Linked DNA regions of Homo sapiens: all the other regions are linked to region 1. The links are contacts of gene promoters, found by promoter capture Hi-C in blood cells and fetal thymus (Javierre and others, 2016). All regions are on one chromosome and are shown on one strand. The core of a region is centred on a gene start or on the middle of the fragment in contact, and the rest is flanking DNA. Distances in the headings are between cores, read along the strand shown.

What was found. Contacts are between HindIII fragments. The CHiCAGO score rates a contact against its expected background, and 5 or more counts as called.
Region 2: a fragment that was not itself captured here is called in contact with the fragment with the promoter of NUAK1 in region 1 in 1 of 17 cell types (neutrophils); the score reaches 5.5 in neutrophils.
Region 3: a fragment that was not itself captured here is called in contact with the fragment with the promoter of NUAK1 in region 1 in 15 of 17 cell types (M1 macrophages, total CD8 T cells, neutrophils and 12 more); the score reaches 12.7 in M1 macrophages.
Region 4: a contact is called between a fragment that was not itself captured here and the fragment with the promoter of NUAK1 in region 1, in 7 of 17 cell types (endothelial precursors, M2 macrophages, M0 macrophages and 4 more). The highest score is 10.1, in endothelial precursors.
Region 5: a fragment that was not itself captured here is called in contact with the fragment with the promoter of NUAK1 in region 1 in 1 of 17 cell types (endothelial precursors); the score reaches 9.9 in endothelial precursors.
Region 6: a fragment that was not itself captured here is called in contact with the fragment with the promoter of NUAK1 in region 1 in 1 of 17 cell types (endothelial precursors); the score reaches 5.9 in endothelial precursors.
Region 7: a fragment that was not itself captured here is called in contact with the fragment with the promoter of NUAK1 in region 1 in 1 of 17 cell types (endothelial precursors); the score reaches 6.9 in endothelial precursors.

What each region holds. Positions count from the first base shown.
Region 1 is chr12:106,137,439-106,140,925 of GRCh38, forward strand. It overlaps NUAK1 (NUAK family kinase 1), which reads right to left and starts at 1,516. Exons shown (of 7, transcript NM_014840.3): 1 at 976-1,516. The coding sequence starts at 1,215. RefSeq lists enhancers at 1-446, 2,838-3,457. The HindIII fragment of the contact is 5,150 bases long and covers 1-3,487 here.
Region 2 is chr12:105,383,171-105,386,657 of GRCh38, forward strand. All of the region lies in intron 1 of LOC105369957 (a long non-coding RNA gene), which reads left to right. Among named protein-coding and RNA genes, the nearest start is that of C12orf75, 54 kb to the left of the region's middle. The HindIII fragment of the contact is 8,197 bases long and covers 1-3,487 here.
Region 3 is chr12:105,403,945-105,407,431 of GRCh38, forward strand. The region is part of intron 2 of LOC105369957 (a long non-coding RNA gene); the gene reads left to right. Among named protein-coding and RNA genes, the nearest start is that of C12orf75, 75 kb to the left of the region's middle. The HindIII fragment of the contact is 5,484 bases long and covers 1-3,487 here.
Region 4 is chr12:105,463,581-105,467,067 of GRCh38, forward strand. No RefSeq gene overlaps it. Among named protein-coding and RNA genes, the nearest start is that of C12orf75, 130 kb to the left of the region's middle. The HindIII fragment of the contact is 7,273 bases long and covers 1-3,487 here.
Region 5 is chr12:105,480,810-105,484,296 of GRCh38, forward strand. No RefSeq gene overlaps it. Among named protein-coding and RNA genes, the nearest start is that of C12orf75, 150 kb to the left of the region's middle. The HindIII fragment of the contact is 1,642 bases long and covers 902-2,543 here.
Region 6 is chr12:105,502,487-105,505,973 of GRCh38, forward strand. All of the region lies in intron 1 of LOC105369958 (a long non-coding RNA gene), which reads left to right. Among named protein-coding and RNA genes, the nearest start is that of C12orf75, 170 kb to the left of the region's middle. RefSeq lists an enhancer at 1,845-2,139. The HindIII fragment of the contact is 3,450 bases long and covers 38-3,487 here.
Region 7 is chr12:105,579,651-105,583,137 of GRCh38, forward strand. No RefSeq gene overlaps it. Among named protein-coding and RNA genes, the nearest start is that of CASC18, 120 kb to the right of the region's middle. The HindIII fragment of the contact is 5,427 bases long and covers 1-3,487 here.

The sequences.
Region 1 (3,487 bases), core at 266-2,765:
ATTTTCTGCCACACACCACACAAAATCTTTCTGCAACAGTCAGTCACTTTGAACCCAACTCTCTAGCCACAAGCAGTGTGGATTTCAAGGGCCTGTTCTGCAGAAGTGAAAATAACAACAAACCAAGGCTGGGACAAGGCAGACAGACCCCAAGGCACTCAAAGCACTCCTTGGAGCTGTGCAAATGGTGCCAGGACCCTGGCAGGGTGTCAGCTGTCACAAGAGCAGCGGGGCCAGACCCCTTCAGCGGTTTGGTAGCCCTGCAACCAGGAGCTGAAACACAACTGAGCCTGCTGCAACTAAGCACAGCTATCTCTGTAGCTACCCATGCCCTGGACATTTCGGTCCTCCCAAAGCCATGATGCAAACTGTTAGAATCCTCAGGCTTGCAGTAGTCTTTATTTTTGCTCCCTAACCTTGTCTCAAAAACAGGCAAGAGTCGCCCTCCCTTGCAGTCACAGCAGTATCAGGGCGATGCAGAGTCTGAGTGGGAGGATGCAGAGCAAGGAGCTGCGGGCAGATGGGTGGAAGGGGGTAGGGACACCTACAAAACACCGGACTTGAGGGGCTAGCTCCTAGCTGGGAATGTGGTTCTTTGGAGAGTTGTGGAAATAAGACGTTTCGGGGCATGGTCTAAATGAGTGCCTGCGAGGGAGAGAGACCCCGGCCGTCCCAACGCTGCAAAGTGTTTGCAAATCTAAAACATTCCTTTGCTGCTAGGATTAAATTTTTAAAAACAAACCAAAAAATAAAATAAAATATGTGCAGACAGGATGTAACAAGTGTTTCAGGACAGAGACACGCCTGAGTCACGGGGTGCTGGAGAAAGAGTGAGGAGTCTGTCTCGGGGCTTCCCAATGAGCCCCCTCTCTGTCAAGAGAGCCCCAGGGCGCACAGACCCCCGCCTCGCACGCCCTCAGTCCCCGGCCGCGTCCACCCAGCGCCCCCCGCACCCTCCAGGATTGCCCCACTCACCACTCGGCCAGAAAACCTCTCGGTGGCCCGCTTGACTTTGCCGTAGGTGCCTTTGCCCAGGGTCTCCTGCAGCTCGTAGCGGTGCTTCAAGTTGTGCTTGTGGTGATGCCGCTTCACCCCGTGCGGCTTCCTGGGCTCCAGGGCTGCAGTCGCCCCCGCCACCGCCTCTCGGGGAGAGCCCGGCGCCCCCAGCCCCAAGTCGGGGCGGTCCCCCGCCACAGGCGCGGCGGCCCCTTCCATGTCCAAGCGCGGGGCGAGCCGGGCTACAGAGGGCAAGACCGGGCACAGCGCTGGGATGTCGGGGTCCCCACCGAGGGAAGCCGCTGTACGCTCAAGGTCGCCCCCGCAGCATCAGGGAGGCGGCCCGATACCGCTCGGACTGCGGCTCGGTCACTGGCGGCGGCGGGGACTGCACATCTGGCGCCCGCGGCGCGCACGGTCCGCGCACCGCCCCCCGGCCGCGGCGAGCTGTGGAGCGTCGGGCGAGGTGGCGGCGGTGGCAGGGGAGGCGGTGGTGTTTGCAGGAGGGAGGGGAGAGGGTGGCTCGCAGCGCAGGAGGGGGAGTGTTATGTGGGGCGCCGCGCCCCCCAACCCCTCCCCGGGAGGACGCGCAGACGGGGCGGGGGCGGCGCTCGCGCGGCCCCAGGGGAGGGGGAGCGAGGGGCGGTGCAGCCAGGGCTTCCCCCACCTCCCTGCAGCCACCCGGGGCCGGGGCCGCCGTGAGCTGGGAGGGGGATGGGAGCGTGTCGCGACTCGCCCTTTGTGCGGCGCGGCGTAGGCCACGGCGGCGGCGGCGGCGGCGGCCAGGAGTGCTTTGTCCTCGCTGGGCCGGAAGGGACCGGGAAATTCCAAGCCGGGCGCCCCCTCCCCGGGCGCTCTCGGGCTCGCCAGTCGCAGCTACCGCGGGCCCTCCGCCGCCTCGGGCTCCGGGGCCGGTCGCTCGGCCTGGATTCCTGCTGGCGCCGGGGCGGCGGTTGCGGCTGGCCGAGCCCCGGGGCCGGGGAAGAAAGAGCGCCGCGAGCCGGGGGCCGCCGGGACCTGCTCGCGATACGGCCGGGGCCGCCGCGGGCCTGGGCGCCCCTTCATTTTCTTGTAGGTGTCGCCGCAGCCTGGCGGCCGGAGCTGGGGGAGGGGGCAGGGAGGCCTGGTGTTCGGTTACAGGCGGTGACTCACGGACCTTGCCCGCCCGAGGCTGGCACCCCGCGGGGCAGAGCTGCGCCCGCCTGGGGCAACTCCGAGTCCAGGAGAACCCCAAGAGCGGCGCTTTGGCCCCGGCCCCCGCGCCCTCTCCGAAGAAAGGAGAGTCAGGGACGGAGGGAGGCCGGGAGGCTGAACCCCGGGCCCGCCGTCGAACCGCCGGCCCTCCGACACCATCTGGACCCCGGCGGGGACAGCCGCCTGGAAGGGGAGGAAGGCCAGGGACGTGGAAGAGATGGGGCTCTAAAGGCGCCGGGACGGAGCTGGCTCCCCAGAGGCGCCCACCCTGCCAGCGAAGGCCGCCATCGGAGGTGGGCAAACCAGGGACCTGGGGTGGACCAGGACCCCGGGCCTGCTGAGCAACCCGTTTGCTGAGCAGGAGGCGATTTGCAGGCCTCTTGCCTCCTTAGGCCTTGGGAGATTTCCTTTCACTGAAAGGGCCAGATCCTGGCGATGGTGACAGGAACGGTACCCCGCACGGTAAGGGTCAGGCAGGAAGGGCCTCCCACCGCGGCGTGGCTGCCGCCGTTCTAAGAAGAGACCATGAAAAATAAGGAAGAAGGCTAGAGAAAAAGAGGTCTTAGGGAAATTTTTTTTTTTAACAAGTGGTGCAATGTACCAGACTAGGGTGGGAAGAGTGAAGGCTGAAGAAGGTCTGGTGTTCTGCAGATCGCATGGCGGTTCTTTTCCACCAGTGGACCTCACTGGGGCCTCCTCTGCAGCTCTCAGGTGCAGCCCTTCCTCTACATTCCCGCCGCCTTCATTCCTGTCTACCCCTGGTCACCTTACCCCGGACTCCAGCAACAGCCCGCTCTCCCCAACCCTCCCCGGGAGCCTCCTCACTGCTGCCAGAGTAATGGCCTGAAACACTGCCCTCATCCTCCACACGTGTCTCTGCTGTACTCTGACGCGTGATATTCTTACCTGTCCAAACTTTCCTTCTACTGATATTTCACACAAACTTCCCTGCCCCTTCTTCCCTTCCCCAGGAGCAATGACAGAACACAGACACAAAGGCGCATCATGCCTATTCAATTCCTATTCTGTCCACCGCATTTGCAGGGCCTCCCTGCCACCCACCCCCATCCTGAAACTGTTCTGCTTCTATACAGTTTGTGGACGTTGTGCCTATAGATCCCACAGTCAGGATGAGTGGCATGCAGGTTGAGTCCTGGCTTCCCAGAGGATTGGCTGTGTGGCCTTGGTCAAATGACATAACCTCTCAGAGCTTCGGTTTTCTCTTAAGATATGGATTTAGCAGATCTATTGTAGAGATAAACACATTGTGTCTACAGTAGTATTTTAAAATATTTTC
Region 2 (3,487 bases), core at 366-2,865, 750 kb before region 1:
GTGAGTGGAGAGTGGGGGAGTGGTGTGGTGGGTCTTTGCCTCTCGCTGTTCAGTGAACTTCATGCCTGTCCTCCTGATCCCCAGCGCTAACACAGGGTCAGGCTCGCGGGAGTGAACAACCACCATTTATCTCCGGCTTGTTGGGGGAAGCCCTTTCATTTACTTGACAGTTTACCTGTCAATTTTACGTGCGTGGTCATTTTTAATCCTCTGCACTTTCAGGTAATAGGAAAATAATTTGAATCAAGTTCTTCCTTCACCATTGGCGTAAAATCGGTGATTAAACTTTTAATATTTAACGTCTTAAAAAAAATTCCCCGGGCTAGCGTCATGCCTAAGTAATGCATGCATCTACTTCCCCCTGGTGGACTCATCTTCTAATAGCAGCTTTGTTTTCCCCCCTTTATTATTGGCAGGAGTAATCCATCTCTCACTTTCCTTAACACAGATATTCATGGATTGCAGGATTCAGCAGTGTCTTCATAATAGCAGGAAGTTTATGTTCTGGCTTTGCCACTTACTAGCTGTGTAACTTGGGCAATTTACTTAACTTCTCTGCGTCTCGGTTTCTTAACCTGTAAAATGGAGACAGTATCAATAATAAAATATTAAAAACGAATACATATCAAGTGCTTACTACATGGCATGTATGAACTCATTAAATTTCTACAAAAATCCTATTACATAAGATTTAAAATGTCCTGGCCGGGCACGGTGGCTCACGCCTGTAATCCCAGCACTTTGGGAGGCCGAGGCAGGCGGATCACGAGGTCAGGAGATCGAGACCATCCTGGCTAACATGGTGAAACCCCATCTCTACTAAAAAATACAAAAAATTAGCCGGACGTGGTGGCGGACGCCTGTAGTCCCAGCTAATCGGGAGGCTGAGGCAGGAGAATGGCATGAACCCGGGAGGCAGAGCTTGCAGTGAGCCGAGATCGCGCCACTGCACTCCAGCCTGGGCGACAAAGCAAGACTCTGTCTCAAAAAAAAAAAAAAAAAAATTTAAAATGTCCTATAAAATGGGAACAAATAGCCTGAGCAACATGGTGAAACCCCATCTCCAAAAAATACAAAAACATTAGCCAGGCATGGTGGCGCACGCCTGTAGTCCCAGCTACTTGGGAGGCTGAGATGGGAGTCCAGGGAGGTCAAGGCTGCAGCGAGCTGTGATCGTGCCACTGCACTCCAGCCTGCTGGACAGAGTGAGACCCTGTCTCAGGAAATAAATAAATAAATAAATAAATAAATAAATAAATAAATAAATTAAAATAAAATGGAAACAAATATTCTTTCCATTTTACAAATAAGAGAATCAAGAACTAGAGAAAAATAGTTCCTACTTCTTAGAGAAGTGTGAGAATCACATGAATTAATGCAGGGAGGATGGTTAGAGAGGGCCTGGCACATAGCGAGTGTCCCCTAACCTCATCGTCATTGTTAGTGTTACAGGATTGGTTCTGTGATGAAGACATTGCCATGGGCCATGTGGATCCTTGTTTACACTTGAGCTACTCTCATTTTCAACAGGCATCAATCACTTGCATGACAAAATATACACTATATCAAACAATGAGCTATGCTTATGTATTCATAGTTTTCTAGACACTTCTTAAGTCAGGGCATAAGTCTTCATTTCTCCAGAGGCTAATGGAAGGTCAGCCCATAGCCCATTTCACTCTTGAGTGTACTGGGGAGATCCTGGGAGAGGGGAAGGAAGAGTAAATGGGCAGATTGAGTATTTATATTAGGATGCAGCTGTCTAGAGGTAACCAGGGTCCCCATATATCTTCCCCACATTTTCCCAGGTCTGAGCATGAGCAGTGGGGATGAGGAACTGGGCTGGCACCCACAGCTATCCATGTAGCTTATTAAGCTGCTCATTTCCTCATGCATCTACGCCCTGAGCCCCTAAGTGTCTTGCACTGTTTGAAGTGCTGGCCTCTTGCTCAGCACTTCCATACAAAGTCCATCATGCTGCTGGATGCCAACAGAAATGAAAGAATCAGGGACACAGATGAAGACGAGAGCATGACCAATGTGTGGATTTTCTTGTAGACAAATTCTTTACATTTGCTATGGTCTGAATGCTTGTGTGCTCCCCGCCACCCCAATTCATGTGTTGAAATCCTAACCACGAACTCGATGGTATTCAGAGGTGGGGCCTTTGGGAAGTGATTAGGTCATAGGGATTCAGGCCCTTAGGAAAGAGGCCTGAAGGAGCTTGGTCATCCCTTCTACCAAGTGAGGACACAGCAAGAAGTTGTCCTCTGTGAACCCGGAAAGGGGCCCTCACCAGACATTGAATCTGCCAGTTCCTTGATCTTGAACTTCTCAGGCTCCAGGACTGTGAGAAATATGTTTTTTTGTTATTTGTAAGCCACCCAGTCTATGATACTGTGTTATAGCAGCCTGCAAGGACTAGGACAACATTGCATTTAAAAAAATAAAGTATACGTATTGTGTTAAGAAATGCAATAGGCTGGGTGTGGTGGCTCACGCCTGTAATCTCAACACTCTGGGAAGCTGAGGCAGGTGGGTCGCCTAGGAATTTGAGACCAGCCTTGGCAACATGGCGAAAAATTAGCCGGGTCTGGTGGTGTGCACCTGTAGTCCTAGCTACCAGGGAGGCTGAAGCGAGAGGATCTTCTGAGTCTGGGAGGTTGAGGCTGCAGTGAGCCAAGATTGGACCATTGCACTGCAGCCTGGGGGACAGAGTGAGACCCTCTCTCAAACAAACAAACAAACTCCAAAAAAGCAAAAAAAACAAAAACAAAAACAAAAAAACCCCCAAACCAATAAAAAGAAATGCAATAGTGTGAATATTTTTGAACTCTCACAACTTGATTAAAAGGCTAATCATGCAAAATAAAATATTGAACTTCTAACAAATTAAATTTAAATAATCAAGTCCAATATGAATGGAAATTATTGGGGGTGGGAGGGAGTACATTTTGGGGATTGATTATTATTATTTTTTTAACAAATAGAGCACTAGAAGCCAGTGCATAGAAAGCCGATGAAATATGAAATAACCTTCTAGGGAATGGCTAGGTCACTGGGTGCTCCATGGAAAGTCGAGCTTGGTGCGGACTCTAATTTGAAGATGAGTAGTGCAGTGACAGCACAGGCTGCTTCATGGAAAACAGGCAGCTGCCCCCACGTGTCCTTCACCTAAAAGCACCAGTTCTCTCTAACATTGATGCTGTGGAGGTGCACACAGGGCACAGTGGAGGTTGTCATGTAATTCATTGCCATTTACCTTTCTGCTGAGCATAGAATGGAATCTCATCCATGCTCATTTAACTTACTGATGGCATTAGAAGCCCCAGATTTATTTGTTTCCTTCTTTCCTTCCTTCCTTCCTTCCTTCTCTTTTTCTTTTTGCTTCTTTCTTTTTTGTTTCTTTCTTTTTCTTTTTCTTCTTTCTTTCTTTCTCTCTCTCTCTCTCCCTCCCCTTTCCTTCCTTCCTTCCTTCTTTCCTTCC
Region 3 (3,487 bases), core at 646-3,145, 730 kb before region 1:
ATTACTTAATATCATCAAATTATCTAGCCAATTTTTTTATTATACTTTAAGTTCTGGGGTACTTAAAGTATATGTGCAGAACGTGCAGGTTTGTTACATAGGTATACACAAGCCATGGTGGTTTGCTGCACCCATCAACTTGTCATCTACATTAGGTATTCTCCTAATGCTATCCCTCCCCTAGCCCTCCACCCCTGACAGGCCCTGGTGTGTGATGTTCCCCTTACTGTGTCCATGTGTTCTCACTGTTCAACTCCCACTTATGAGTGAGAACATGCGGTGTTTAGTTTCCTGTTCTTGTGTTAGTTTGCTGAGAATGATGGTTTCCAGCTTCATCCATGTCCCTACAAAGGACATGAACTCATCCTTTTTTATGGCCGCATAGTATTCCACGGTGTATATGTGCCACATTTTCTTTATCCACTTTATCATTGATGGGCATTTGGGTTGGTTCCAAGTCTTTGCTATTGTGAATAGCACAATGTCTGGCACATCAGATAATTCAACAAATGGTAGCTATGAATGCTATGATCATTTATAAAGATCATAATGCCTTCCACACCCAGGGCCAGTGCCATAATTGGGCTTCTTAATACCTGCCCTACCCAGCCCTGACTTCTGTGGGACAGGAGAGGAAGGAGCTCCATTTCTCTCTCTTCTGTCCTTCTCTTTCCCCTGTCCTTATCTCCACCTCTTTTACTAATGTGTCTCCCAGGGGAGGAAGGACATATCTCATGGGGGAGATTGAGATCAGGGGAAGTGACCATAGCCAGCATAGCCCCTTCTGAACTCAGGGGCAGGGTTTGTCCAAGCTATGTTGCCTTCACAGCTGCCTCCTCCATGGGGAAAGAGCCTAGAGCAGGATGAGCATCTGGAGGAGTTGCCAGGAGGGAAAAAGGCAATCTGCAGTTATACCTGACACTGGGTATACATATATTTATTTTTATTGTTTTTTTGAGTGATATGGCTTGGCTCTGTGTCCCCACCTAAATCTCATTTTGAATTATAGCTCCCGTAATTACCACGTGTTGTGGGAAGGACCTGGTGGGAGATAATTGAATCATGGGGGTGATTACCCCTATACTGTGCTCACGGTTGTGAATAACTCAGAAGAGATCTGATGGTTTTATAAGGGGAGACCCCTTTCACTTGGCTGTCATTCTCTCTCTTGCCTGCCGCCATGTAAGATGTGCCTTTCACCTTCTGCCATGATTGTGAGGCCTCCCAAGCCACGTGGAACTGTAAGTCCATTAAGCCTCTTTTTCTTTATAAATTACCCAGTCTCAGGTATGTCTTTACAGCAGTGTGAGAGCGGCCTAATACACTGAGAGAGGGTCTCATTCTGTCACCCAGGCTGGATTGCAGTGGCATGATCACAGCTCACAGCAGCCTTGACCTCTTGTGCTCAAGTGATCCCCCACGTCAGCCTCTTGAATAGCTGGAATACTGCAGGCACGTGCCACCACACCTGGCTAATTTTTTATTTATTATATATTTATATTTATTTTATTTTTTTGTAGAGACGAGGTCTTGCTGTGTTGCCCAGGCATGGGTGTGCATTTAATTCAGGGAGGAAGGAGTGGAGTCCTGCGTTTGGCTTCACCTCCAAGTTGTTTTCTCTAATCCTGCTGCTAGATGTGTCCTTATCCTCCTGCCTTAGCCTCCCAAAGCACTGGGATTACAGACGTGAGCCATCATGCCCAGCCAAGATGGAATACTTAAGAAAACCCAACAACTTGTTTTCTCCATGCTTCCAGGAGCCATCCTATCAGCATGTTTGCAGTGTCTCTCAGGGTCCCTGCCAGGGTATTAAATCCTATATTCAGAGAAAGTGCCCCCATAATGATACATTCTCTTTTATCCAGTGCTGTTTTCTAATTCTCACACCTTCCTCATTCCAGCACCCTTCGAATGCAGTCTCTTTTCTGATAAGACTTGGCAGGATTCTGTAGCTCCTACAGGGTAGAGTCCTTTTCCTCCTTATAAGGTTCAGCACCTCCACAGCTGGGTTGTGTTGCTGGGATGTGCACCTGGCTTAGAGGCCAGTGGGAAGTATGGGCAGATCACAGTGGTACACACGTTCTCTTACATGGGAGAGGCCTCGGCATCCCCTTCCAGGAGGAAACAGGGATGGAACTTAACAAGACGAGGCCATTTTGCAGGCCCAGGCATTCAGAGAAATCAGAGGATTCATGCTTTTTCAGAGGCATTAACCCAGCTGTCATCCCTCAAGGTCACATTGCTTTCCCAGCCAGGGTCCTGACCCTATCATAGCAAATCTACCTAAGGTTGAGAATTTAACCTCCTTTGCTACAGGAGATAAGAGTCTTTTTTTAAAATTTTTTTTAACCATGCTAAGGAGGCACTTGAGCTTTTGTGTTCAGTTTTTAATTGACTGGTAGTCACCCTCAGTCTTTTGTCATCTTTTTCCAAAGCAAACATTGTTCTCCAGTGACAGCCATTTAATTCCACTGCCCTTGTAATGACTATTTCCCATATATTTTTAACACCAAATACATTTTCCTTCCACCTGTATCCCATTCCATTTTAACACCATTGGAAGTTTTGCCAGTTTCATCACCATCTTGTGTCAGGGGCTTTATCAGCTCGGTGTACCAACGGTAACGGGGATCTCATTGCCTGTCAGTGGTCAGCTGGCAGCCTCAGATCCCATCTTAGCATCTTCTTTCTCAGACTACTCCTGGCATCATCTGTTCGGTTGATTCCCCAGGAAGCAGGTGCTGGACAGAGATTTGAGTGCATAGGTTCACCAGGAGGTGTGCTCAGCATGGACACCTGTGGTGGCAGGGCAGGAAGCGAGATCGAGAAGAGAGAGGTGTTGGATTGCAATTCAGTTTCATCTAAGGCCTCAGCTGACCCCTTTGGGAAGCTCTGAACCTTCAGACTTGTCCCAGGTTCGGGCAATGGCCTATGCCTTTATATTCCTGTATTGACTAGTGCAGTGGGCTGAATGTTCGTGTCTCTCCAAAAATTCATGCTGAAATCCTAACCCCCAAATGTGATGGAGATGGGGCCTTTGGGAAGTGATTAGGTCCTGAGGATGAAACCCTCATGAGTGGGATTAATGCCTTTATAAAAGGGACCCCAGAAATCTCTCTTGCTCTCTTTCTGGCACGTGAGGATAAAATGAGAAGATGACCAACTGCAACCCAGAGAGAACCTCCACCAGAACTCAATGGTGCTGGCACCCTGACCCTCAACTTCCAGCCTCCAGAACTGTGGGAAATGAGTTTCTGTTGTTCTTAGGCCACCCAGTCCATGGCACTTTGTTGTAGCAGCCCAAATGGACTAAGACAGCCACTTACCATTGTAGGCTGCCCTTGGGAAGGTGGAGTGTCCTTCAGTGAGGCAGCTTTCTTCAGGGAAAAAGAGGAATTTCTGGAGAGAGATAACAGTTGAGGGCTCTCAGCCGGCAAAAGTCTCAGCAGCAGAAGGAATGAGGAGAAAAAAATGGGCACAGTATTTT
Region 4 (3,487 bases), core at 387-2,886, 670 kb before region 1:
GGGCGGGCAGCAGCCCTTGACTGAATGCAATGGAATTACCAGGGCCTAGCCTTCTTCAAGGAGAGACATTTAACTGTGGGACTACTCACACTCAGAGCTCCATGTAAGATCAGGCTGACACTAGAATACAGTGGTTCCACATTTTGTTTTTTTGTTTGTTTTGAGACAGGGTCTTACTCTGTCACCCAGCCTGGAGTGCAGTGGTACAATCTCAGCTCACTGCAGCCTTGACCACCTGAGCTTAAGTAATCCTCCCACCTTAACATCCAGAGTAGCTGGGGCTACATGCATACATGCATGCGCCACCAGGCCTGGCTAATTGTTTAAATTTTTTGTAGAGGGGGAGTTTCACCATGTTGCCCAGACTGGTCTTGAACTCATGTACTCAAGCTCGATCAGCCTGCCGTGGCCTCTCAAAGTTCTGGGATTATAGGCATGAGCTACTGCGACTGGCCACTTCCTCATCTTTGTTTTTCATTTGTCCTTTCAACTTTTCTTCAGTCACCTACAGGACTCTTCTATGATCACTCCATTGATAAATCGTACAAGAATCTCCATCTCAGGCTTTCCTTTTAGGAAATCTGCCCCTTAAGACTACATTTCTTCAAGGTTCAGCTCTGGTGGTATCTCCCCAAGACAGCCCAGCCAGGGTGGTACTAAGTACCCTTCTCTGAGTTCTCACATCCTCTCAAACAGACCCTCTAGCTTGTCGCCCACATGTCATATTGAAATAGTTTGTTAATATGCCTTTTTCCCGCCACCAGATTGTGAGAGGCTTCAAGATCCTCTTTTTTTCTGACTGTACTTTGGCCCTGAGACAAGTGATTGTAACATAGTAGGTGCTTAAGGAGAGAATCACATAGAGACTTTATTTGGATTAGGGGTTAACAAAAGTTTTTCTGAAGGAGTAGCGTTTAAAAGATGAACTTTGCCAAGAAGACAGGCACCATCTGGATCAGTCTGCATGTTTTTTTTATCCCTCCTTTCAGAGTCTGGCTGGCGCTAGGTATTTATTACAGAGATAGATTGGCAAAGATATTTGACAGATGGAGAGATGGGCTTTGGATGTGTCTGTTCTCCTGTGGTTGGGCCTAAACAGCTTTCTGTATTAGTTAGGATTAGAGACAGCTGCATGTGGAAGAAAAGACAGTGGTTAAAACACAAGGATTTTTCAAAAAATTTAAATTTTTCTTGTAAAAGAAATGCAGAGGTACGTAGCCCAGGACCAGCATGGTGGTTTCATGGTCATCAAAGATCCAACAACTTTCTTTCTACACCATCATCCATATTGTATAACTTTCATGCTCAAGGTCACTTCATGGGCTAGGATGGCTACTGGGACTCTGATGGTCACATGTGCATTCCTACTTGGAAGAAGCATGAAAAACCGAAGAGCAGTCGGATTTATGCTCTATGTGAATCAGCTTCTTTAATGGATTCTTTCTGGAAATCCAACACATTGGCTAACATTGGCCAGTACTTAGTCTGATAGGAGGATGGGTAAACTAACAATTGGGAATCTCTTGCTTCCTCCCTCCGAAGGGAGAATGGACATTTGGAAGGCAACTGGCAGTCTCTTCCATTCCTTTCATCCCAGGTTTTCTAGGAGAATCCCATTTCAACATTCTGGCTCATAATCTTCACAAGCCATCTAAATATCCCAGAAGGTTCTCTACTTCCAAGTAATATCTCTTAGACTGCCTCTCCTGATAAAATTCCTTTTCCTATGCATGTCTCTATATTTTGGTTTTCATCACAGAACAGCCTCTAATACTTGACCTTCATCAAACAGACGACATAGACAAGAAGGTGTTTGATGCATTTAAGAAGGACCAAGGAGTTAAACTAGACACCACCTTTGCAATGAATGGCTTGGTGGCCACGGACAAATTTTGCTCCTTGGGCATATTATTCTTTTACAGCTGAGTCAATAACACACCTGGAGCATGGGAAGAAACAACTGATGCTCTTCCTGGGAAGTTTCTGGGAAGAGGAAGGACCACTTTGAGGAACGACAGAGCTTTGTGAGGTGGTGGAAGCAAAGAATGCTGTCCCAGAACAAGGGATAAATGCTGTGATGCTGAGAAATGCCTTGCACTCTGCTGTTAGTTGTGTAAATTGCCAGCATTATACAAAGGTTTCATGACTCTTTGGCTTACATATTCCCCACAATCTGGTTCCCATGTGGGTTTCCAGCCCCTGGTCCCACCCCTCCTCTCCTGGACTCCACACTCGACCAGTCTTCAGGATGTGCTGTCCCTGTGCCCACACTTTGCTTTCTTCCTTCTGAGCTTTTCCTCATGCTGTTTCCTCTACCAGGTAAACTGATTGGTCCCATTACCATAAGCCCAGATCCCATAATGCAGTTTATGAGCATGGCTGCTTTAGGTCAGATAGCGCATGGCTGCTGTTTCCAAGTAGAAAGGCCCCCCTGTTAGGCTGGGCTCGATTTCAGACCTGGGTCTACCTAAACCCTGCTAAGAGGATCTCTCAGAGGTCAAGCAGAGCCTGAGCCATTTCCATGTTTTGAAGCCTCTAGTTTATTGAAAAGGAAGAAATGCCCAAATATTGGTGGAATTAAATGTTTATATAAATTCACATTGGTTGGCAGTGGCTCCGTATATTTTATGTATAAACACAGATGGAGGTAATGGCAAAAATCTAAACTTGGGGCATTTTGTGATAGTGAGGTTTGGGCCAAAGGACCCTCTTGTTGGTCCTGTCTTTCTTCCCTTTTACTTGGATTCTGTGAATTGGTCTTTCTGAATTATCTCATTCAGCATGGTTCTTTTGGCAGCAGATCAAACCTTCTCATCCCGTACCTCTGCCCTGGAATTTCCCAACTGGCCAATCAAGACTTCCTGTTCAGCCACCCTCCACAGTCCCCACAGATTCCCATCTTTTTCAAAGCTAATTAAGAAGTGACATTTTTTGAGTACTTTCTATGTGCCAAGGCATTATGCCAAGAGCCTAACATTAATTACCTAATGTGATCCTTTCCACGGTCCCTAAGAGGTAGATATTATTGGCCCCATTCACAGATGAGAAAAACTGAGGCTCAGAAACATGAGTCAACTTGGAAAGAGTTTCACACACTTGACCAGTGGTAGAGCCTGTACCGGAAGCCAGGCATCCTGGCTCTGGAGCTCATGTTGTCACCCTGTTACCCACTTGCCTCATTTCTGAGAGCAGCCTATTCCTAGGAGCCGCTTCTGCCCTGCCTAACTCAACTGCTTTGTCTTCCATGGCGTCTCTCTCTCTCTCTTTTCTTTTTTTTTGGCTCTCTCAGCTAGAAGTTTATTCCTCTCTTTCCTCATAGTCCTGAGGACTTTATCTGAGCCTCTCTTATAACTCCTGCCACATTCTTTTATTTCCTGTAGTTATTTGCGTATATTTCTCAAAATAGAGCTTTGTCTAATAGACTTCTTTCTCCTCTTAGAAAAGCACAATGCCTTGAATGTAAAAAGAACTCAATGCATTTTTGTTG
Region 5 (3,487 bases), core at 473-2,972, 660 kb before region 1:
AGCTGAACACTTTTTTCCCCAAGTAATTTATAAGGAACTACAATATATACAAAGATCTCAGTTATAAAACTACTGTTTTAAGGATACATTTTGGATTTGAAGGCTACTTAAATTTGTGTAATTTAGTTGTATATGAAAGAACATCCCTAATTCTGCTTTGGTGGGAGTTGATCTGTAAGGCAGCCCAGGCATTCTTGTGCTGGTTTAAATACAAGGTGTTTGGCAGTGGAGGGCTCCTGACAGGGAAGGCAGCTAATTTTCCACCCACAAGCCTCATAGGGAGGACTTCATCTTTGTGTATTTACCACATTCTTCTATCTGTCCTTCGGATACCTGATTTATCAGTACAGCAGAAGTGGCTTCTCAGGGCTGACTCACATTAACTGTGCATAGGAGACTGATGTACAAACCAGCATCATATTTAAGGGATGTATTATACAAAGAGAACTAGAAGAGTTTTGGAACTGGAGAAATTACCTAGGGCACTGCGTTGGCATAGATACTCAAGTTTGTGGTCTAAGCAGGAGTTGGCAAACTGACCTGGGGGGCAAATATGGCCCACTACCTGTTTCTGTATGGCCTCTGAGCTAAGAATGGTTTATACATTTTCAGTGGCTGAAAAAAAAGTAAAGAATGCTGTTTTATAATATGTAAAAATCATAAGAAATTCAAATTTCAGTGTCCATAAATAAAGTTTTGTTAAAATAGAGCCATTCAAGTGAATAGACTCGTTCATTTACATCTTGCCTGTGGCTGTTTTCATGCTGCAACAGCAGCACTGAGTAGTTGGGACAGAGACCGTAAGGCCTGCTAAGCCTAAGATATTCATCTCTGACGCTTTATAGGAAAAAGTCTAGAGTCGTGATTCTTAAAATGCAATATGCATACAGATTTTCCAGAAAGCTTATGAAAAAGTAGATTCTGATTTGGTGGGTCGGGAGGAGGGGCCTGAAATTCCACATTTCTAACCAGCTCCCAGCTGATGCTACTGGTGTCTGAGTGGCAGGCATAGAACCGCTTTTCCACTGGGTGGCACTTGGATGGCCCAACTTCTTGCCCCTGTAGGGTAGATTTTGATCTGATCATCCTCTGCTCTTTACGTAGTCTTTCTCCAGACTGGGTACAACACACTAGCAAAAATTTCCACATGTTAAACTCTTTCAGTCTGCCTTCCTAAGGTCACATCCAATCTATCTGGATTAAAGAAGATTCTTGGCTTATTCCCATGTGTGGTTACCGCCTAGAAATCCACAGTGTCTGTACATTTCACTGGTTGAAGTCTCAGAGAAAAATCTGAAACCCATATTGTTTGGGGGAGCCTCATTGTTGACATCATGCCACAACCTACATTCCTAGATCCAGTGGGCATGGCTGGATGTTGCATTGAGAAATAAGACTCTTGGAATTCACAATTAGAAGGACATTTACTTTCTTTCTGAATAATATCTCTCAACAATCCTTTAAAAACTTTTCAGGGCCTAGCACCCAGGACCTGACACTCAGTAGATGAGATATTTAAGAAATGCATGACTAGACATCTAATAAATTCCCAGCATTCAGCATTATTCAACCTTCCTACGGCTTCAGCCGGAAGGACCAACTTGCCATTTCCCAAACTGGCCGTAGGTTTTCATATTTCTGTGTTTCCTCAATGAGTTTTCCTTTTATGGGAAGGCCCTTTCCTACCTTCTCTCCCTGGCAAATGACTTCTCCAAAAGGTAATTCGTTCAAATGGTGCGTTTTGCCAGAAGCCATTCCCATCTGCCCCAGGTGATGTTGTTAGCACTCCCCTGTGATTCTGTTGCTTTCCATTCCATGCATCCCAGATTAGGACCACTCACCCATATGACATCTTTGTTCAAATTAGGGAAAGTCACCCCTCCTATTTAGCTGACACAGTCCTACACCAAGGCCTTGGAGAGAGGAGTGTGTGAGAGTTGTTGGGGAGAGAGAAAGAAGATAGAAAGAGAAAAATGTTGAATAATAACCTAAAAGGATATAGGCCTTCAAGTTTAGAAAACATTTTAGCATGTATTAGTGTATTAGATCCTGAATGCATGGATGTGAAGATAGTAGTCCTGTTACTTATCAGGTATATCAGACAGGTTTTCGTTATTTTGTAGGTGGGAAACAGACTCAGAGAGGTTGTTTGACTAACTTATGGTCACACAGCTCATGGATCTTAGAGCTGAGTTATAAATCCAGCTCTCTTCCCTGATCCCTGTTTGTGACATGCATAGTTTGGCTTTCAGAGGAGAGTGTCATTCCTCTTTAAGGGATGATCGAGAGAGCTGCCCCAGGAGAGAGGAGGGACTTCCATGTGATTGTTGCATTAGCTCAGCTCTGAATGGTTTCTTCTGTTTAATAAACCTTGTTAATTTTACTACTGCTTGTTCTTGGCTCCACCACACAGCAGTGGTTTAGGCAATATGTTCAAAAAATGTGCTAATTACAGGCTGTAATTTTCTTCCATCCTAAAATAAATACTTAGCATTTTAGTACTTGGAGAGGGAAATAGTTTAGTGGAGCTAGAAGAGTCACGAAGCTTGGGGGCTGTTGGGAGGGGCTGAAGAACATGGAAGCAGAATGTGCAAGGATAGAAAAAAATAGAAGTTTTTGGAAGGCTGTGGTGTCTGGGGTCTATTTAGTGGGAGTGGTGTTATGTATGTGGGTGTGTGCAAGTTTGGGGGATACTTGGGGGATGCTGTGCAGAGAGAGGCAGAGGGAAGGGGGTGCTTGCTACCTGCTCACCAAACTCTGTTCCTTCTCTTCCGTGGTGCAATTCTGTCATTCAAGAAGTGTGTTTTGTTTTGTTTTGTTTTGTTTTGTTTTTTGAGCTGAGCATGGTAGCTTATGCCTGTAATCCCAACACTTTGGGAGGCTGAAGTAGGAAGATTGCTTGAGCTTGGAAGTTCAAGACCAGCTTGGGAAACACCAGGCTTTCAGCAAATGCTCCTTGAGTGTGTGAAGTACTGTATTGAGCAGCATAGAATTGGACACTGTTGACCATATCATTCTTTAGTTGATGAGATCTGGGCCCTCATAAGCCCTCATGTTTGGACAGTGCCTCCTGGTTTACAAAGAGCTTCCTTGAACATGATCTCAGTTCAGCATCACAATAACCCTCTGAGATGAAAAGGGGTAGGGAAAGAACAGGAAGGAACTAACAGGAACTGTGGGAGTTCAGAATGAGGGATTATTTCTAGCTGCAGGAGGGACCCATAGAAGTCTCCTGAGAAAGTGGCATTGAGATGGGCTTTTAAAGAAAGGTGAGAGAGCAGAGAACAGTATTCCAGGTGGAGGCCACATCGTAGGCAAAGTCACAGAGATGTGAAAGCGTGGGTGTGTCTATGGGACTAGGGGAGGTGATCAATGGGGCTGGAGTATAGGCTGCCTGCAGGACAGTGTGGGAGGCCAGACTGAAAACAACCACAGGGCTCAGAGAGCAGCATCATTTCATTAGGATCATCATCTTCATTCCCCTCTT
Region 6 (3,487 bases), core at 513-3,012, 630 kb before region 1:
ATCTGTAAGAGGTTGGGGTGCTTAGGATTTGTTCTCAAGCTTGAGTAAGAGATATGCAGGCACCATCCCTGCTGCTTTCTGATTTGTGGCTTAACAGTCTCTCCCTCCTCATACAGCGCCCCCTTCCCAAAAGCTCGTTGCTGGAGAAGGCTCAGGGCTGGGGGAGAGTGCAGAGGGTGAGGCCGTGGGAGTGGCAGGAAATGGGAGCGAAAGAAAGGGACTTCACTCTCTCTCCATTCCCAGGGATTTAGATGCTTAGATGCCTTTCACACTCATCTCTGGAAATCCTAACACTCACTTAGGAGAGAAGACTGGAACCTGATTGTTACACCTGGGTGAGGTGTGAAGGCACAGGCTGAATGATGCCTTAGCAGATAAGAAGGTGAACCAAGGGGGTGGGAGGCTCCAGTGCTCTGGCTCAGTGTCTCCTTGTTTAGAATTATTTCTCTGAGACATGATATATAATCTCCAGGCTGTATTCATCTGTCAGCTTGAGATGAGGGAAAATGCTCATGTTTTATGTGCTGATTTAATTGTATCCTTCTCTGATGCCCTTGTTTGGGATGTGCTGGTTGAGAGGGGAGTGGCCTGCGCAGTGGCGTTTGCCAGGGAATTACTGTGTGCCAGGCACCAAGCACATCATTTTTGTGCATCGCCTTCTTTGCTTCTCATCACAGTTACTATGATTATGCCCAAGTGTGCCTAAGGAAAAGTGAGATATAGGGAGGCTAATGTCACATGGTACAAATGTGGCAAGGCCAAGATTTGAACCCAAGATTGTCTGATTCTGGAACTCACAGGCTGACCCACGGGTTTATGTAGGCTCATTCCAGTATAGAAGCAGCAGGTTGGTGCAGTACAGGAGTCAGCACCTTCTGTTTGATGGTGGCTCTGCCAAAGAGAGCTGTGGGATCATTGGTAAGGTTGTGATCACTCCAGGACTCATATTTTTCAACTGTAAGTTGATTGTTGGTCTAGATATTCTCCAAGGTACCATCTAGACAAGAGGGTTGGTGATTCTACGCTGATGTCTACAAACAAGAGCTGGAAGAAATGATGATCTTTTTTTTTTTTTTAAATGGACTTTGCTCTTAGAAGGAGGCATTGGCTTTGAGATTAGGACTCTAATCTCATTTAGGAGGCTAATTTTCAGCATGGAGTTGTACAGGTTTTGGGGCCTTTGGAACAGAGTTCAAATCCTGGCTCCACCATATGTTTTCTGCAAGTCACTCAATCTCTCTGATCTTTAGCTTCCTGGTTGGTAAGATGAGGACAATAAAACCTTCCCTACTGAGGATGCATGAATATCTCAGCTATATTCATTGTATTGTGTTCTCCTTGAGGGTGGGGTCATGCCTTATGTATTTCTGGCAGGCATGGGGTTGAGTTGAATTGATTTTAAGAGGGAATAAAAAGCAAGTTGCTCTCTATAGACAAACCAGGCGTGTCTCTCCTTTGTTCAATGTGCCAGGGGGCAGGGACTCATTTCCCAGCCCCAGTATCTCCCACTGGCCAGGTTTTTGTCCTGTCCTGAGATCTCCCATGCAGTTCCAGGGAACTGTCATTTTCCACTACACCAGCTGGATAATACTCAAGCAAAGGTGTATGGGCATATGGTGTCTCTGGCTTTGGGCATGGAAGAAGGATTTGTGATGGGCTAGTTTTTCTTCTTTGGCCTCCTTGCTTCTACCCATTCCCCCTTCCACATAGGCATGTACACACTGGCTTACCTAGGTGGGTTTTTATCTCTGGATTTCCCATGTTGAGATGTCGTTTTGGGAGACAGCCGGCTCTGAAGTCAGACACACCATGGTTGGATCCTGGCAATTCCTGACATGCCTCTATGAGCCTCGGTTTCCTCGACCATGAAAGGAGATAGTAATAGCACTTGCTTCCCTGGGCTGTTGTGAAGATTAAATGAAGTTCAGCACAAGGCAAGGACTCCATAAGTGATACCAGTTTTACTTTTGTTTTGGCTCCACTCTGCCTGTCCTTAGCGCCCCCTGGCCACTAAACACAGAGTGATGGGGAGAAAAGGAATCAGAGCCCTACACTTCCTTCGGCTGTGCCAGTTATTCCGGCCTATGCTGCTGAATTTGAAGCTAAACTCAGAAATCTGCACTCTGTAAACATATCTATGACTTTAACTAGAACCACTGGTGTTTCGGACCAGAAATGGACTTAGTGATCGTAGATTCTGATCTCCTCCATTTGGAGTTGGTGGAAAATGAGTGAGAGAACATCCCTGCTTCCCTGCCAAAACCAGTGGTTTAAATAAGGTACAAGTTTATTTTTTCATATAAACATTGGTAGCCTAGGGCTGAAATGATGGACCCATGATCAGCAATGAACGAAGGCTCTATCCATTTTGTTGCCCTGTCCTCCTTAATCCAAGAGTTCTACTTTGTGGTCCAGGGTGGCGGCTCTAGCTCCAGCCATCATAACTTCAGTCCAGCTCACAGGAAAGAGAAAAAGAAAAGAAATTGGAAGAAGCATTGCATTTAAGAATACATCATGAAAGTTACACAAGCCATATCATAAGTACATAAGGATTTACACACCTAAGGATGACACAAGTCATATCCTTTTATATTCTATTGGTTAGAACTTTGTTATATACATCCATAGTTAACAGCGAGGGAACTCAGGGAATGTAGTATTTATTCTGGTGGCTATGTGCCCAATCAAGATTTGGAGGTTCTATTATGGAGGAATGAAGGGAAAATGCATCTAAGGAGACCATCAAAAGGCTCTGCCACACAGGTGACACAACTGCTTTACCCCCTCAATCTGTGTTCTTTCTATAGCATTCGCAAGGTTTTTTTAAAAATTAAAAAAATGTTTTTTAAGATGAAGTCCTGTTATATATCGCCAAGTTGCTCTCCAACTCCTGGGCTCAAGCAATCCTCCTACTTCAACCTCCTGAGTACTGGGACTACAGGTGCGCTACTGTGCCCAGCTACTTTTATTCATTTTTTGTTTTTTTAGAGACAGGGTTTCACTATGTTGCCCAGGTTGGCCTTGAACTCCTGGCCTCAAGCATTCCTCCTCCCTCAGTCTCCCAAGTAGCTGCGACTACAGGTGCATGCCACTGAGTCCAACTGCATTGCAAGTCTAGATTAAATTTCCCTTAGGTTCTTAATAAAATTTCTTGAAAATTCTGATCACAAAGATGGCACCTGGCAAGTTCCCGACCCAGGCAAGTTGGCTGGAGCACAGGCAGAGAGCTTGCGGGAATACAGTGGGGAGAGCACCCAGGCCACACTGATGCCTCTGTCAGACTGGGCCCCTTATGTTAAGGAAGACTGTGTCGATCCTTGGAGGGCAGAGAAACCATACTGTCCACCACTGAGGCAACAGGGAGAAATGAGATTGAGCTGTGCTAAGAGAAAAGAACGAGAGCTTCTGGGAAAACTCAGATACTTGTAAAAATTCCACCTAACCTGGGATGTAAGGTGATGTGCTGCTAAGATGGGTGAGTAGCTCA
Region 7 (3,487 bases), core at 536-3,035, 560 kb before region 1:
AATCCTAAGTTTTCGTTGTTCATCGATTTGCCTCAGAAGCATGATGATGATGATACTAACAATAAGAGCTACCACTTTTTATAACTGGGATTTTGAGAAGACACAAATCAATATTGCCTCTTTCCCTTCTGATTCTGAACCAAGACAAAGGAGTGAGGAAAATGGGGCCCAATCCTCATCTGTATGACTGGAGCAAGGACTTGGAGTGAGAACCCACAGGGGCTTATTGACTTCCAGCACTGAGACTGGACCTTGGAGCAACCAACCTGAGGGCAAATTGGAATCTGCAAAGCCACACACTTCTCCAGGTAGGGAAGGATGGAGGAAGAGAGGCCAAGTCTCCCTCCTCGAGATCTTTGATGGGTCAGCACCACCCATTAAAGAAAGATAGACGACTGGCTCTTGTTTACCAGCCAGGTGGCTCACTCTGTCTCCTCAGGGAGTGCTAAGAGGTTGGACAAGTGGCCCGGTGTGTTATTGCTCCCTCATCACAATGACTATCTAGAGTGGGGCAAACTTGTCCCTCGAATGTTCCCCGTGTTTTCATCATAGTCAACTCATAATCAGTGTGGGATGTGGCCGTCCCTTCAGGGGAGATCAGTCCTTTGTAAGGACAGCTCTGTCCTTGCTTCAAGAGGCTGCACTTTTCATTGAAACCTCTGTTCCTTCAGGCATTCTGTCTGGGCTGCTGGCAGGCAGGGTAGACTGTGCCCTCAGAGGGCTCTGAATTGAAGCAAGTCACACGTTAATAAAATCATCTCCAAGGACACCCTGTTCAAGGCTCAAAGTTATTCCATTTCCTACCTCTTAGCCCAAGTGATGTCTAGCTATGTTGCCTAATACAACCCCAAAGAGGTTCTGGTCCAGCCAAGGAACAGGCATGAGGAAGGGTGTCTGCCAGGACAGGCACTGCAGGAGAGCCTCAGAGGTCGGGGAAAGCTGGGGCTGTGAGGGGCTTTTGAAGGGGCTTTTCCAGAGGGGAGCTGCTCTTTCAGATTTGGAGCCTGCAACCTCCATTCAGGAGAGGAAGGAGGTTATGTATGAGGGCAAAACCTCTCTCTCTCCCCTTGCCTTCTTCCTAGCCTTACCCCATGCTCCTCTCTCTCTTCCTCACACTTCCTGAATTAATGACCCCACCAAGACTTTTTCCAGAGAAAAACAACCAAGCCAGAAATCACCTGGCCTCTCTGACAGCCTGGCCCATCCCTACACACTCACATCTCATGGTCTGCCACTCCCACATGTCACTAGGCCACTGAGAGACTTCCTGTTCATCCACTGTCAGACATGAGTTGTTAGCACTTCTTGGCAAAGGATCTTGACAATTGCCTTGACAATTGCCTTGGGAAGGAAAACAGCACCGTGGGTTAGTGGAAAGAATGTGGCTTTTGGAGCCAGGCGGACCTGGGCTCAATTCCCAGTTCTGCCACTTAATACCTGTGTGACCCTGGGCAAGTCACTTAACCTCTTTGAGTTTCAGTTTCCTCATCTATAAAATAAACACAAAGATGATAATAGTGAGCTTATGAAACTGCTTTGAAAGCCATTCAATGTGTGAAGTGTGCTTGCGAGACCCACGGGAGGTAGGCTTTAATAGTTTGGGAAGATTCCGTCATAGCCTAATTGCAGTTTTATGGGCCTCTTCCTTTTGATAAATAACAGGACTTATCTGAACACTCTGAAATTATAGACATCACAAAGTGTCTGCTCTGCACGAGGAAGCTCTTAAACAGCCTACACCGGGCTTTCTAATGAATTTGTCTTTCTTTTGCTCTGAGCCCATGCCCACTTCCTTCTTAGTGGTAGCTGCTCACTACAAACATTTTGAAAATGCTCTCTCACGGTGCTCTTTCAGGCATTCTTTTACTAGACTGGCTCTGGTTTGTCATGAATTGTATGTGTATTGAGATTGTCTGTATGTGGTGGTAGAATTGACAGTGTAAACACAGGACATAGGTCCGCAGGACACAGGAGGCTGGCTGGCCCATTGTCTTTGTGATCCTTGGTATGTGGGTCTATCCTGTAGGTGACTCAAAGCACCTTTGCGACTCAGTCTTACAGGCCGGGCACGGTGGCTTACTCCTGTAATCCCAGCACTTTGGGAGGCCAAGGTGGGTGGATCACTTGAGGTTGGGAGTTCGAGAACAGCCTGGCCAACATGGCAAAAGCCCATCTCTACTAAAAATACAAAAATTAGCAGGGTGTGGTAGTGGGCACCTGTATTCCCAGCTACTCGAGAGGCTGAGCAGAAGAATTGCTTGAGCCCGGGAAGTGAGCCTGGTTGCAGTGAGCCGAGATTGTGCTACTGCACTCCAGCCTGGGTGACAGAGTAAGGCTCCATCTCAAAAAACAAAGCAAAACAAAAAAAGTCTTCCAGACTTTGGAGGTTGGAGGGAGCTCAAGTCAGACCAGTCTTCCCATAAATCCTACTCTGAGGCCAGATGCATTAGAGAGAACATCTCAGTAGGTCATGTGGTTGCTTCCCTGGGGGTACCACTTAGGGTTATGGCATGCAAGGAACATACTGTAACAAGAAAATGCACGTATTGAAAAGATACTGAGTAGCTTCCAAAATTGATGGAAGACCAGAGAACCAGCTCAGGAAATGCATGTATCCCAGGGAGTTAGGCCACAGCTGAAGACCCCCAGCAGAAGGTGCTTGCTAGCAGGCTGCCACTATGTCACCACTGCTGCCACCACTGGACCCTCAGGCTTCTAGGAGTGAACTTGCTGCCATTTGAGTTAAAGTCCTAATTTCCTCTGTGTCATTGGATTGCTTGCTTAATCGCCACAGACTTGAGTTGGAATACCCTGTTGACTGTTCTTAGATTGTGTGCCCATGTTCAGCAACCAGGGAGCAGGGAGAGTCCTCTTTGGTTTTCATAGTCAGATCACCTAATAGGGAGTTCCTCCAAAAGCAGGAAGGTGTTCAAAAGATTAACATCGAATATACTAGAAAACTAGCAGCTTTAGTGTATTGTATTTTATTCCTTTATTTATTTTTAACATTGGTTAGTTTTATTTTATTTATTTATTTATTTTTGAGATGAAGTCTTGCTTTGTCGCCCAGGAGTGCAGTGGCATAATCTCAGCTCACCCCGATGGCTGAAGCGATCCTCCCACCTCAGCTTCCCAGTAGCTGGGACTACAGGTGCGCACCACCACATCTGACTAATTTTTGTATCTTTTTTGGTAGAGAGGGGGTTTCCCATGTTGCCTAGGCTTGTCTCAAACTCCTGGGCTCAAATAATTCCTCACCTTGGCCTCCGAAAGTGCTAGGATTATAGGGATGAGCTACCAGACTTGGCCAATTGATTGTCTTTTAAATATCATTTTGAGTCCAGAAGACAAAATATATAATTGAAATGTCCTGTTCACCCCTAAAACTTGGGTATAGCAGAAAAAGTACTGACTTGGACTCAACTTCTCTGACTGTCAATTTCTTCTGTGAAGTGGCAATTAGGACAGCGATTCTGCACAGCTCAGT